2 separate regions of the Homo sapiens genome follow, and region 2 is linked to region 1. Evidence: promoter capture Hi-C in human tissues and cell types (Jung and others, 2019). All regions are on one chromosome and are shown on one strand. The core of a region is centred on a gene start or on the middle of the fragment in contact, and the rest is flanking DNA. Distances in the headings are between cores, read along the strand shown. Region 1 holds the start of NR0B2 (nuclear receptor subfamily 0 group B member 2). Region 2 overlaps LOC101928391 (a long non-coding RNA gene).

Evidence for each region. Contacts are between HindIII fragments. The study calls those that stand out against the background at their distance.
Region 2: a fragment that was not itself captured here is called in contact with the fragment with the promoter of NR0B2 in region 1 in 2 of the 25 tissues and cell types used here (mesendoderm cells and spleen).

What each region holds. Positions count from the first base shown.
Region 1 is chr1:26,911,593-26,916,981 of GRCh38, reverse strand. It overlaps NR0B2 (nuclear receptor subfamily 0 group B member 2), which reads left to right and starts at 3,007. Exons shown (of 2, transcript NM_021969.3): 1 at 3,007-3,573; 2 at 4,896-5,389. The coding sequence starts at 3,042. The coding sequence ends at 5,137. It also overlaps a transcript of NUDC not described here. RefSeq lists an enhancer at 1,040-1,540. The HindIII fragment of the contact is 33,061 bases long and covers 1-5,389 here.
Region 2 is chr1:27,056,852-27,062,240 of GRCh38, reverse strand. It overlaps LOC101928391 (a long non-coding RNA gene), which reads right to left. Exons shown (of 8, transcript XR_007065559.1): 6 at 3,719-3,843; 7 at 2,161-2,227. Among named protein-coding and RNA genes, the nearest start is that of TENT5B, 47 kb to the right of the region's middle. RefSeq lists silencers at 2,889-3,183, 3,909-4,203. The HindIII fragment of the contact is 6,810 bases long and covers 1-5,389 here.

The DNA of each region.
Region 1 (5,389 bases), core at 1,758-4,257:
CCTGATTTTTATTTATTTATCTATTTTTAGTCAGGGTCTCACTCTGTTGCCCAGGCTAGAGTGCAGTGGCATGATCACAGCTCACTGCAGCCTTGCCCTCCTGGATTCAAGCAATCCTCCCACCTTAGTCTTTCGAGTAGCTGGAACTATAGGTGTGCACTACCTACCTAGCTAATTTTTGTATTTTTTTGTAGAGATGGGGTTTCACCATGTTTCCAAGCTGGTCTTGAGCTCCTGGGCTCAAGCAGCTCACCCACTGCAGCCCCCAAAGTCCAGATTACAGGTGTGAGCCACCGTGCCCGGCCAGTTCTTGGTTTTTTAGTATGATTCTAGTGCCTACTTCATGCTTTCTAAATATTATTTTCCACTAAAAGATTAAATCAGAGCTCTTTGGAGTATTGGTTGATTCCAGGGGCTGGAAAAGTTGATATCTTGCTATACCAGAAAGCAAGTGTTCCAGGAATTATGGAAGCAGGCCAAAATGACACAGACACCAGCTTGAAAGGGTTCCCATTGACCACATTGATCAAATAAATATAAATATTCAGGGTCTAAGGGGAGGTTTTGTGTGTGGGGTTTTTTCGTTTTTTTTTAGACAGAGTCTTGCTCTGTCTAGAGCAAGGCAGGAGGGCAGTAACACAGTCATAACTCACTGTAGCCTTGAAGTCCTGGGCTCAAACCATCCTCTTGCCTCAGCCTCTCAAGTAGTTGGGACTACAGATATGCCCCACCACACTGGCTAATTTTTTTTTTTTGGTAGAGATGAGGTCTCACTGTGTTGACCAGGCTGATCTTGAACTCCTGAAGCCTCAAGTGATCCTCCCACCTCAACTTCCCAAAGTGCTGTGATTACAGGCGTGAGCCACCGTAACCGAGTGTGTATTCTATTCTTAAAGAGGGTCCTCCAAATCGTAACCTTCAGGCCCCATAAAACCAATATCCACCTCCAGAAATTCTTGTCACTGTTTTAAAAATGAGGAAACTGAGGCACAGAAAGAGAAAGTGATTTGCCCAAGGTCACTCAGCTAAGTGAAGCAGGATTTGAACCCAGCCAGTCTGACTCCAGAGTCTGCTTCAAGGGGACACTGTGAGAATTCAGTGAGATTTAAAAACATGAAAGGAACTTTATAAATTTAAGGATTAAGACTAATAATCAAATGAAAGAGGTGTGCCTGTTTGTCCACTGGTGCTCAGCTCCACAGAGGAAAGGGGCAGAAAAATCCTCCTACCGTATGCCAGAAACCACTTGGAATTTAACAACCAGGACCTCATTTTGTCCCCATGGCAGCCCTACAGCCAGGCATTATTGTCCCAGGGAGGCTTATCGAGGTTCAAGGATCAACCCAAGTCACATAACCAAAAAGTGATGGATTCTGGAGCAGATGCCAGGGCTAGTGATGCCAGAGCCTCTCTCTCCCCATCCAGGGCACCAGGCTGCCCAACAGCATGCAGCAGAAGGCTTGCCACACTGGACTGGCCAAGGTCCAGGAACATGACACAACCAAGGGCCTCTCCACCTTCTCTCATCCCCTGTGCTCCACCATCTGAGAAAGATGCCCGGGACAGAGGAGCCACGTGGCAGCAGAGCAACACTTCTGCCCAGATCACAAGTGGGCAACGTCTGCAAAGCAGGCAGCAGCAAGGTGGGGGCAGCTAGCCACAAGCTCTGAGAATCTCAGGCTCTGGCTGTGCAATTGGGCCAGTGGGTCCAGGGAAACAAACAAGGACTTTGGAGTCAGGCAAGATCTGGGCTTTGTCTTCCTGGTGGGATGACCTTGGGCAAGTCACTTTAGCTTTTTTAGTCTCATAAAGTAAGAATCTAGCCTTAGGAAGAGGCTGCCAATATTAGAGTGGGAAGTGCCTGACACATAATAAGTGCTTAGAGAATGGCAACCATATATATACATATATATATATATATATGTATGTATGTATGTGTATATATATATACACATATACATATAAATATACATATACATATACATATACATATACATATACATATATATTTTTTTGAGACAGGATCTTGCTCTGTTGCCCAGGCTGGAGAGCAGTGGCATGATCTCAGCTCACTGTAACCTCTGCCTCCCAGTTTCGAGTGATTCTTTTGCCTTAGCCTCTAGAGTAGCTGGGACTACAGGCACATGCCACCATGCCCGGCTAATTTTTGTATTTTTAGTAGAGACGGGATTTTGCCATGTTGGCCAGGCTGGTCTTGAACTCCTGACCTCAAATGATCCCCCTTCCTCAGCCTCCCAAAGTGCTGGGATTACAGGCATGAGCCACCGTGCCCGGCTGGCAACTATCTTTTATTATAATTCTGTGAGTTCTTCTCAGCAGACCTGGCCTTTCAGGAGTGGTAGGAATCAGGCTGGGGATAAGGATTCTGAAGGACCTTATTCCTGCAGGGGGCCCAGAACTGGAATCAGAGGAGGAGGCCTCCTAGATTGGACAGTGGGCAAAGTCCTCCCAGCCCCCAGGGTCCTGGCTCCCTTCCCTGTAGCCTGCTTCTGGCTGACAACAGAAGCAGGGCCCCAAGGTTAGGCAAACAAGCTAGTGATAAGGCACTTCCAGGTTGGGCCTTGCATTCAAGGCCCACCCAGCTCTGGGGCTGGCTTCCTGGCTTAGCAAAAGCCCTAGTCTTTTGTGCACACAAGAGCGGGCACCAATGGGGACACCTGCTGATTGTGCACCTGGGGCCTTGGTGCCCTGGTACAGCCTGAGTTAATGACCTTGTTTATCCACTTGAGTCATCTGATAAGGGGCAGCTGAGTGAGCGGCAGGTGGCCCTGTGCCCTGCACCGGCCACTTCATTGACTGAGGTGATATCAGTGCCACGTGGGGTTCCCAATGCCCCCTCCCCCACCACTTCCCCACCATTCCTGCCAGGGGCAATGTCTGTGTGTTTTTTTCAATGAACATGACTTCTGGAGTCAAGGTTGTTGGGCCATTCCCCCCGTTCCACTCACTGGGAATATAAATAGCACCCACAGCGCAGAACACAGAGCCAGAGAGCTGGAAGTGAGAGCAGATCCCTAACCATGAGCACCAGCCAACCAGGGGCCTGCCCATGCCAGGGAGCTGCAAGCCGCCCCGCCATTCTCTACGCACTTCTGAGCTCCAGCCTCAAGGCTGTCCCCCGACCCCGTAGCCGCTGCCTATGTAGGCAGCACCGGCCCGTCCAGCTATGTGCACCTCATCGCACCTGCCGGGAGGCCTTGGATGTTCTGGCCAAGACAGTGGCCTTCCTCAGGAACCTGCCATCCTTCTGGCAGCTGCCTCCCCAGGACCAGCGGCGGCTGCTGCAGGGTTGCTGGGGCCCCCTCTTCCTGCTTGGGTTGGCCCAAGATGCTGTGACCTTTGAGGTGGCTGAGGCCCCGGTGCCCAGCATACTCAAGAAGATTCTGCTGGAGGAGCCCAGCAGCAGTGGAGGCAGTGGCCAACTGCCAGACAGACCCCAGCCCTCCCTGGCTGCGGTGCAGTGGCTTCAATGCTGTCTGGAGTCCTTCTGGAGCCTGGAGCTTAGCCCCAAGGAATATGCCTGCCTGAAAGGGACCATCCTCTTCAACCCCGGTGAGCTCCCAGACACTCCTGGGTGGGGGGCAAGGCTGAAGCAGGGGCCAGCCAGGGAAGGTAGCTTCTAAGGGTTTGATATCTGTTATCTCATTGGGTCCTCATTTTCTTTTTATTTTTCTGAGACAGAGTCTCACTCTGTCACCCAGTCTGGAGTGCAGTGGTGCGATCTTGGCTCACTGCAACCTCTGCCTCCTGGGTTCAAGCAATTTTCTCTGCCTCAGCCTCCCGAGTAGCTGGGATTACAGATGGCCGCCACCACTCCCGGCTAATTTTTGTACTTTTTAGTAGAGATGGGCTTTCACCATGTTGATCAAGCTGGTCTTGAACTCCTAACCCCTCAGGTGATCCACCCACCTTGGCCTCCCAAAGTGCTGGGATTACAGGCGTGAGCCACCGTGCTTGGCCAGTCCTCATTTTCATCAAATAGCCATCTCACAGAAGAGGCACAGAGAAGCTAAGTGACTAGCTAAAGGTAACACAGCCAGGTAGGGACAGACCAGGATGGCAACTCAGGTCTATTCACTCCAGAGACTGGCCCTTGCCACTCTGCCTGAGAAATTTGCTCTGACCTTTACAGAAGGCTGTGGGGAGGTGGGGTGGGCAGACACAGCTGTGTCTCAGTCACATCCTCAAAGGAAGGCTGCATGGTGAAGCTCTAGAGCTAAAACTCCTCTGTGGGTTCAGAAAGATCACATAGAAGAGATGACTGAAAGGGGCGTAGGGAGGACAGGAAAGGAGTCTTTATGGAATTCGGCCAGGAGAGCGGCAGATGGAGACAGTGCTGTTTGTAATCTGGAGAGCATCTGAGATGAGAGTTCCCCAGGAGTCCCTTGTGGCACGCATAAATCGTAGTAATTAATTGTAATAATAGTAGCAAATACTCATATCACACTTACCATATGTTAGGCCCTATTCTAAGGGTTTTACATATACTAGTTCATTTAAATCTCATAAAAGCCTAGGAGACAGGTCCTATTAATATTATTATTCCCGTTTTACAGATAAAGAAACTGAAGCCCAGAGATTAAGTGACTTGCCCAAGGTCACCCAGCTAATAAGTGACAGTGCTGGGATTCATACCCAGGAAGCCTAATTCTTAACCATTACTCCACACTGCCTCTTCATAAATGGATGGATGAATACATTGAAAATTGATAAATAAATTACCTCCTCTAAAGGAGGAGGTAGTAGTGGGACCTCAAAGGCCGAGCAAAGGAGGCAGAGGGGTGTCTCTGATGGCCCAGATCTTGGGCCAGTCTTGTCCTTTGGTGGCTGGGAGTAGGGTGCTCACCAGCCCTCTTCTCCCTCTCTGCCCACAGATGTGCCAGGCCTCCAAGCCGCCTCCCACATTGGGCACCTGCAGCAGGAGGCTCACTGGGTGCTGTGTGAAGTCCTGGAACCCTGGTGCCCAGCAGCCCAAGGCCGCCTGACCCGTGTCCTCCTCACGGCCTCCACCCTCAAGTCCATTCCGACCAGCCTGCTTGGGGACCTCTTCTTTCGCCCTATCATTGGAGATGTTGACATCGCTGGCCTTCTTGGGGACATGCTTTTGCTCAGGTGACCTGTTCCAGCCCAGGCAGAGATCAGGTGGGCAGAGGCTGGCAGTGCTGATTCAGCCTGGCCATCCCCAGAGGTGACCCAATGCTCCTGGAGGGGGCAAGCCTGTATAGACAGCACTTGGCTCCTTAGGAACAGCTCTTCACTCAGCCACACCCCACATTGGACTTCCTTGGTTTGGACACAGTGTTCCAGCTGCCTGGGAGGCTTTTGGTGGTCCCCACAGCCTCTGGGCCAAGACTCCTGTCCCTTCTTG
Region 2 (5,389 bases), core at 826-3,325, 150 kb before region 1:
CAGGAGTTGGAGACCAGCCTGGCCAATATGGTGAAACCCTGTCTATACTAAAAATACAAAGATTAGCTGGGTGTGGTGGCACATGCCTGGAATCTCAGCTACTCTGGAGGCTGAGTCAGGAGAGTAGCTTGAACCGGGAGGAGGAGGTTGCAGTGAGCTGAGATCACGCCACTGCACTCCAGCCTGGGCGACAGAGTGAGACTCTGTCTCAAAAAAAAATAAAAAAATTAAAAATTAAATAAAACAAATCACCTATAACTCACTCTCCAAAGATCATCTTTGTGGCTGTCTCACCCATCAGCATCTGCCATTGAGTCACCCTGGTCCCAGTCACCCAAGACGCTGGGTTTGCTAAGGGACTGATGTCTCAGGGAGGAAAAGAGGCTGAAGAACAGGCCGTGCAAGTGTGGCTGGCTTGTCCCCAGCAGAGAATTTAGGAGCAAAGCATTTCAGTGACTTTTAAAAGTAAATCAGGCCAGATGTGGTGGCTCATGCGTGTAATCCCAGCACTTTGGGAGGCAGAGGTGGACGGATTGCTTGAGCTCAGGAGTTCAAAACCAGCCTGGGTAACATGGTGAAACTCCGTCTTTACAAAAAGTAGCCAGCCACTGTAGCATTTGCCTGTAGTCCCAGCTTCTCAGGAGGCTGAGGTGGGAGGATCACTTGAGCCCAGGAGTTTGAGGCTGCAGTGAGCCAAGATCTCACCAGTGCGCTCCAGCCTGGGCAACAGAGTGAGACACTGTCTCAAAAAAAAAAAAAAAAAAAAAAAGGTAAATCAGAGGGGCCACCCCTGCTTAAAACCTTTCACCAGCTTCCCACTATGCTGAGGAAAAGGTCAGGGTCCCTAAAGTAGCCCGCAATGCCCATACCCCACACACCTGGCCTGCATGCTGGCCTCCATGTATGAGCTGTATGACTTTGAACGAGTTATTTAAACTTGTCTGTGCTTCAGTTTCCTCATTTATAAAATCGCAATAACAGAACCTACCTCAGGACTGTTTGAGGGTAAAATATGCTACATGAGGTGCTTAGAATAGGGCCTGCCATGCGGAAAGTCCTCAAGAAGCATTGCTGCTATTACTGTTATTATTTTTGTCCCACTGTCTCTTGCTCTCCCCGCTAGGATACACACCCCAGCTGCCTGACTGTGGAGCTCCGCCTTCTAACCCCTCTGGCAGCATCCAAAGGCAAAAGGCCACGGCAAAGCTTCTCCTCAGACGTCCTCCTTGAAGACGTCCTCCTTGTTTTATAAGGGGGTGGGGGAACTTTCCAGAACCCCTTTCTGTCTCATTGACTAGAATGGGATTCTATGCCTGCCCCTAAACAAACAGAGGTAGAGAGTGGGGCCGGGCGCGGTGGCTCACGCCTGTAATCCCAACACTTTGGGAGGCCAAGGCAGGCGGATCATGAGGTCAGGCAATCGAGACCATCCTGGCTAACACGGTGAAACCCTGCCTCTACTAAAAAATATAAAAAATTAGCCGGGCGTGGTGGCGAGCGCCTGTAGTCCCAGTGTAGCAGGACGAGCTGCAGACAAAACTCCTCAGACACCGAGTTGAAGGAAGGGGTTTAATCGGCTGGGGGCATCGGCAAGACTCCTGTCTCGAGAGCCGAGCTCCCCGAGTGAGCAATTCCTATCCCTTTTAAGGGCTCACAACTCTAAGGAGGGTGCGTGTGAGGGGGTCGGGATTGATTGAGCAAGCAAGGGGTACGTGACTGGGGTCTGCATGCACTGGTAACTAGATCGGAACAAAACAGATAGGGATTTTCACAGTGCATTTCTATACAATGTCTGTAATCTATAGACAACATAACTGATTAGGTCAGGGGTCGATCTTTAACTACCAGGCCCAGGGTGCAGCGCCGGGCTGTCTGCCTGTGGATTTCATTTCTGCCTTTTAGTTTTTACTTCTTTCTTTGGAGGCAGAAATTGGGCATAAGACAATGTGAGGGGTGGTCTCCTCCCTTACCAGCTACTCGGGAGGCTGAGGCAGGAGAATGGCGTGAACCCCAGAGGCGGAGATTGTAGTGAGCCGAGATTGCGCCACTGCACTCCAGCCTGGGCAACAGCGAGACTCCGTTTCAAAAAAAAACAAAAAACAAAAAAACAACATCAACAATAGAGGCAGAGAAGAAAGGGAATACCATAGTTATACACACCTGACCCAAAGCAGGGCTCTGTTCCCGTAGACTGGTGGTTCTCAGGTTCCAGGAGAGTCAGAATCACCTGAGGGTTTAAAAAAAAAAACAATTTCCAGGCCGGGCACGGTGGCTCATGCTTGTAATCCCCGCACTTTGGGAGGCCAAGGCAGGCGGATCACCTGAGGTCAGGAGTTTGAGACTAGCTTGGCCAACATGGCGAAACCCTGTCTCTACTAAAAATACAAAAATTAGCCGGGCATGGGGGTGGGTGCCTGTAATCCCAGCTACTCCGGAGGCTGAGGCAGGAGAATTGCTTGAACCTGGGAGGCGGAGTTTGCAGTGAGCCGAGATCGCACCACTGCACTCCAGCCTGGGCGACAGAGCGAGACTCTGTCTCAAAAAAAAAAAAAAAAAAAAAAAAGAATCCCAGCGTGGAAGAGGGGAAAAGATGTAACCCAGCCTGCAAATGCGGGCTCCTCCCTAGAGACTGGCATAAGGTGAGTGCCAGCCCAGACGTGGCCATCACTGTAGCTACACAAAGCCTCCAAGGTTTCTGCCAGCTCTGGGGGCTCATGTGCTCATGGCTGCTGTCCTGCTTCTGCTGATTCCTTGCAGCTGTCGCCTTTACTTCTGTCCTGGAGTTGACCCAAATGAGGGGCAAGAACTGCAGGACATTTTCCCCTGCTCCCAGAGCAACTGCGGGTATAAGGCTGTTGGGCTGTCGTGTGAGGGGGATTTTCCTAAAGACACAGCACACAGGGAGAATAACAGAAGTCACCTTCCTGAGGCTGCCCCGCACTTGGGTTCTGAGGACCTTCGCTCCCTCCCCTCCTTCTCTTCTCCTCCCTCCTGTCTCCCCTGCGGCAACCTGAACTACTCGGCTCTCTCCCCGCTCCTCCTCCTCCTCTGCAACTCAGCTCTAGTCCTGCCTGAGGCCGAACCCTTGAACAGGAGGCCAGGGCTGGAAAGTTGTGGAAATGCCCCTGTGGGGAGCCCTGCCAAGGATGCTGAGGCTGAGCCCCAGCCTGGGGGAGGGGGTGTCCTGATCTGAGCAGACCCTGAGGGCAGACAGAAGGCAGCCAAGGTCTAGAGCTGGTGCCTCTAACCACCTCTACCCCAGAGGCTGTGGGATGCTTGGGAGCCAGGATAGGGCCGGGCTTTGGGTCTACACTACCTTGGTCCTGAGATGGAGTCTAGGAACATTGGTGGGGGTGCCAAGCATTCTGTAGAGGTAGGATGGGGTGGGTCCCTCTCACTTCTTCAGCCCTCAAGATTGCATACAACAGGCTCCTAAGAAATCACTGAGGCTGGCTGGCACGGTGGCTCACAGGTGGCTGAGGCAGGAGAATCACTTGAACCCGGCAGGCAGAGGTTGCAGTGAGCCAAGACCGCGCCACTGCACTCCAGCCTGGGTGACAGAGCGAGACTCCGTCTCAAAAAAAAAAAAAGAAAAAAAGAAAAAAAGAAATCCCTGAGGCTTTTAAGCCTCGGAGGGAGAGCCTGCTGACTCCTTGAGGTGTACAGAGGCACCAGTTTTTAGGAGGACAGAATCTTTCTAAGGCAGTTTGATTTTTACCTTCTCAGGTGCAGGAAAAGTGACTGTTTCCTTCTCTGTGAATTTCCCATGGACTAAGGGACTCCCGACAGGGGGAGGGCCCTCTTGGCAGTCAGCTTATTCTGAAATTTGAATTTCCAATGCACCTGGAGGAATCCAGAGGGGAAAGGTTGTTATTTATAACCAAAGCTTCCTTCTAAGGAAAGTAGATCCTGCTGCATTAACTAAAAGGCCCTTTTGTTCTTAAAAGGCCCTTACTGGGTTTGGCTTGGCAGCCTGGTTTGGGAAGAGCAGGAGGGGCTAGGGAGAGCTGAAATGCAGGGTCTCCTGTGTGAGAATTGGAAGCCCCTGGGGCATCGAGGTGTCTGTCACGCAGGGGCTGAAGAAGGGAGGCGGGTAGATGGGCATGGGCGCCAGCAGATGGGAGCAGCAGCCCTGTGCGGGCGGGGCTGGAGGATGCCTGAGAAACCAGCTTGTAAGAGCAGAGACGTCCCAGTGCCACTTTCAGTCGTGTGCTGAGCCACTCTATAACTCTTCCAGGGACCCACAAATCTTAGTGAAATTCTGCTTACAGAGCAGTCTGGTATCCACGGTTTCTTGGGAGAAGAAACGGGCTGCATCCTACATTTGAGTCAATTCCAGGGCAGAAATAAAGGGAACAGCTGCTAGAATTCAGCAGAAGCCGGAAATCAGAGGCACACAATTGTAAGCCTGAGAAATTGCAGAAGCCTTGTGGAAAGTAAGGGATGGGGTCTGAGCCAACCTTATTTCAATCCCAGTGGGCTGGCGGACCCCAGCTACCAACCATGGGTTCTGCCTAGGGGCAGATATTTGCCCCCCCGCTTCCTTGCTAAAAGAAGCTTGTTTTGTTCTGGTGGGAGGACAATGTACTAATTACCCCCAGGTGGATGGTGACTGGGATATTTACATTTGATCCACTCCCCTCTGCTGGTAATTGGGTTGGGGAGAACCATGGGACCCTGTTCTGGCCAATGAGATAAGAGGGGGAGGCTGCTGGGGGCTTCTGGGAGGAATTTTCCTCCTCTTACAAAAAGAGATGTTTTAGGAGGACCCCTGTCCAAGCCTCCCTTCCTGAGATGCTGCCCGTGGCAAATGCAGCCACACAAAAGTGCAGGCTCCAGGGTCAAACCATCTGGGCTAAAAGCATGGCTCTGCCTCCGATTGGCTGTGTTGTCTTAAGCAGATTACTTGACCTTTCTGTACCTCGTGTTCCTCCTCTGCAAAATGAAAATAATTGGACTTTCTTCTCAGGGTGCTGTGAAAATCAAATGAGTGAATACACCTAAAATGCCCAGACAGTTCTAGCACATGATAAGTACTCAATATATAACAGCTGTTATTTAGTTGCTCTCTGTGGATATGATGCTTGGAGCCACGGTAGTCATCTTTCAACCATGAGGGCCTTGACTCAAAAATGGTCTACCCCAAGATATCTTAAGATAAAAGTCCTGTGGGGTTTTTTTGTTGTGTTTTTTTTTTTTTTTTTTTTTTTTTGAGACACTCTCACTCCATTGCAGAGGCTGGAGGCTGGACTGTAGTGGTGTGATCATGGCTCACTGCAGCCTTGACCTCCCAGGCTCAGACGATCCTCCTGCCTCAGCCTCCTGAGTAGCTGGGACCACAGGCACATACCACCGCACCTGGCTCATTTAAAAAAATTATTCGGAGAAG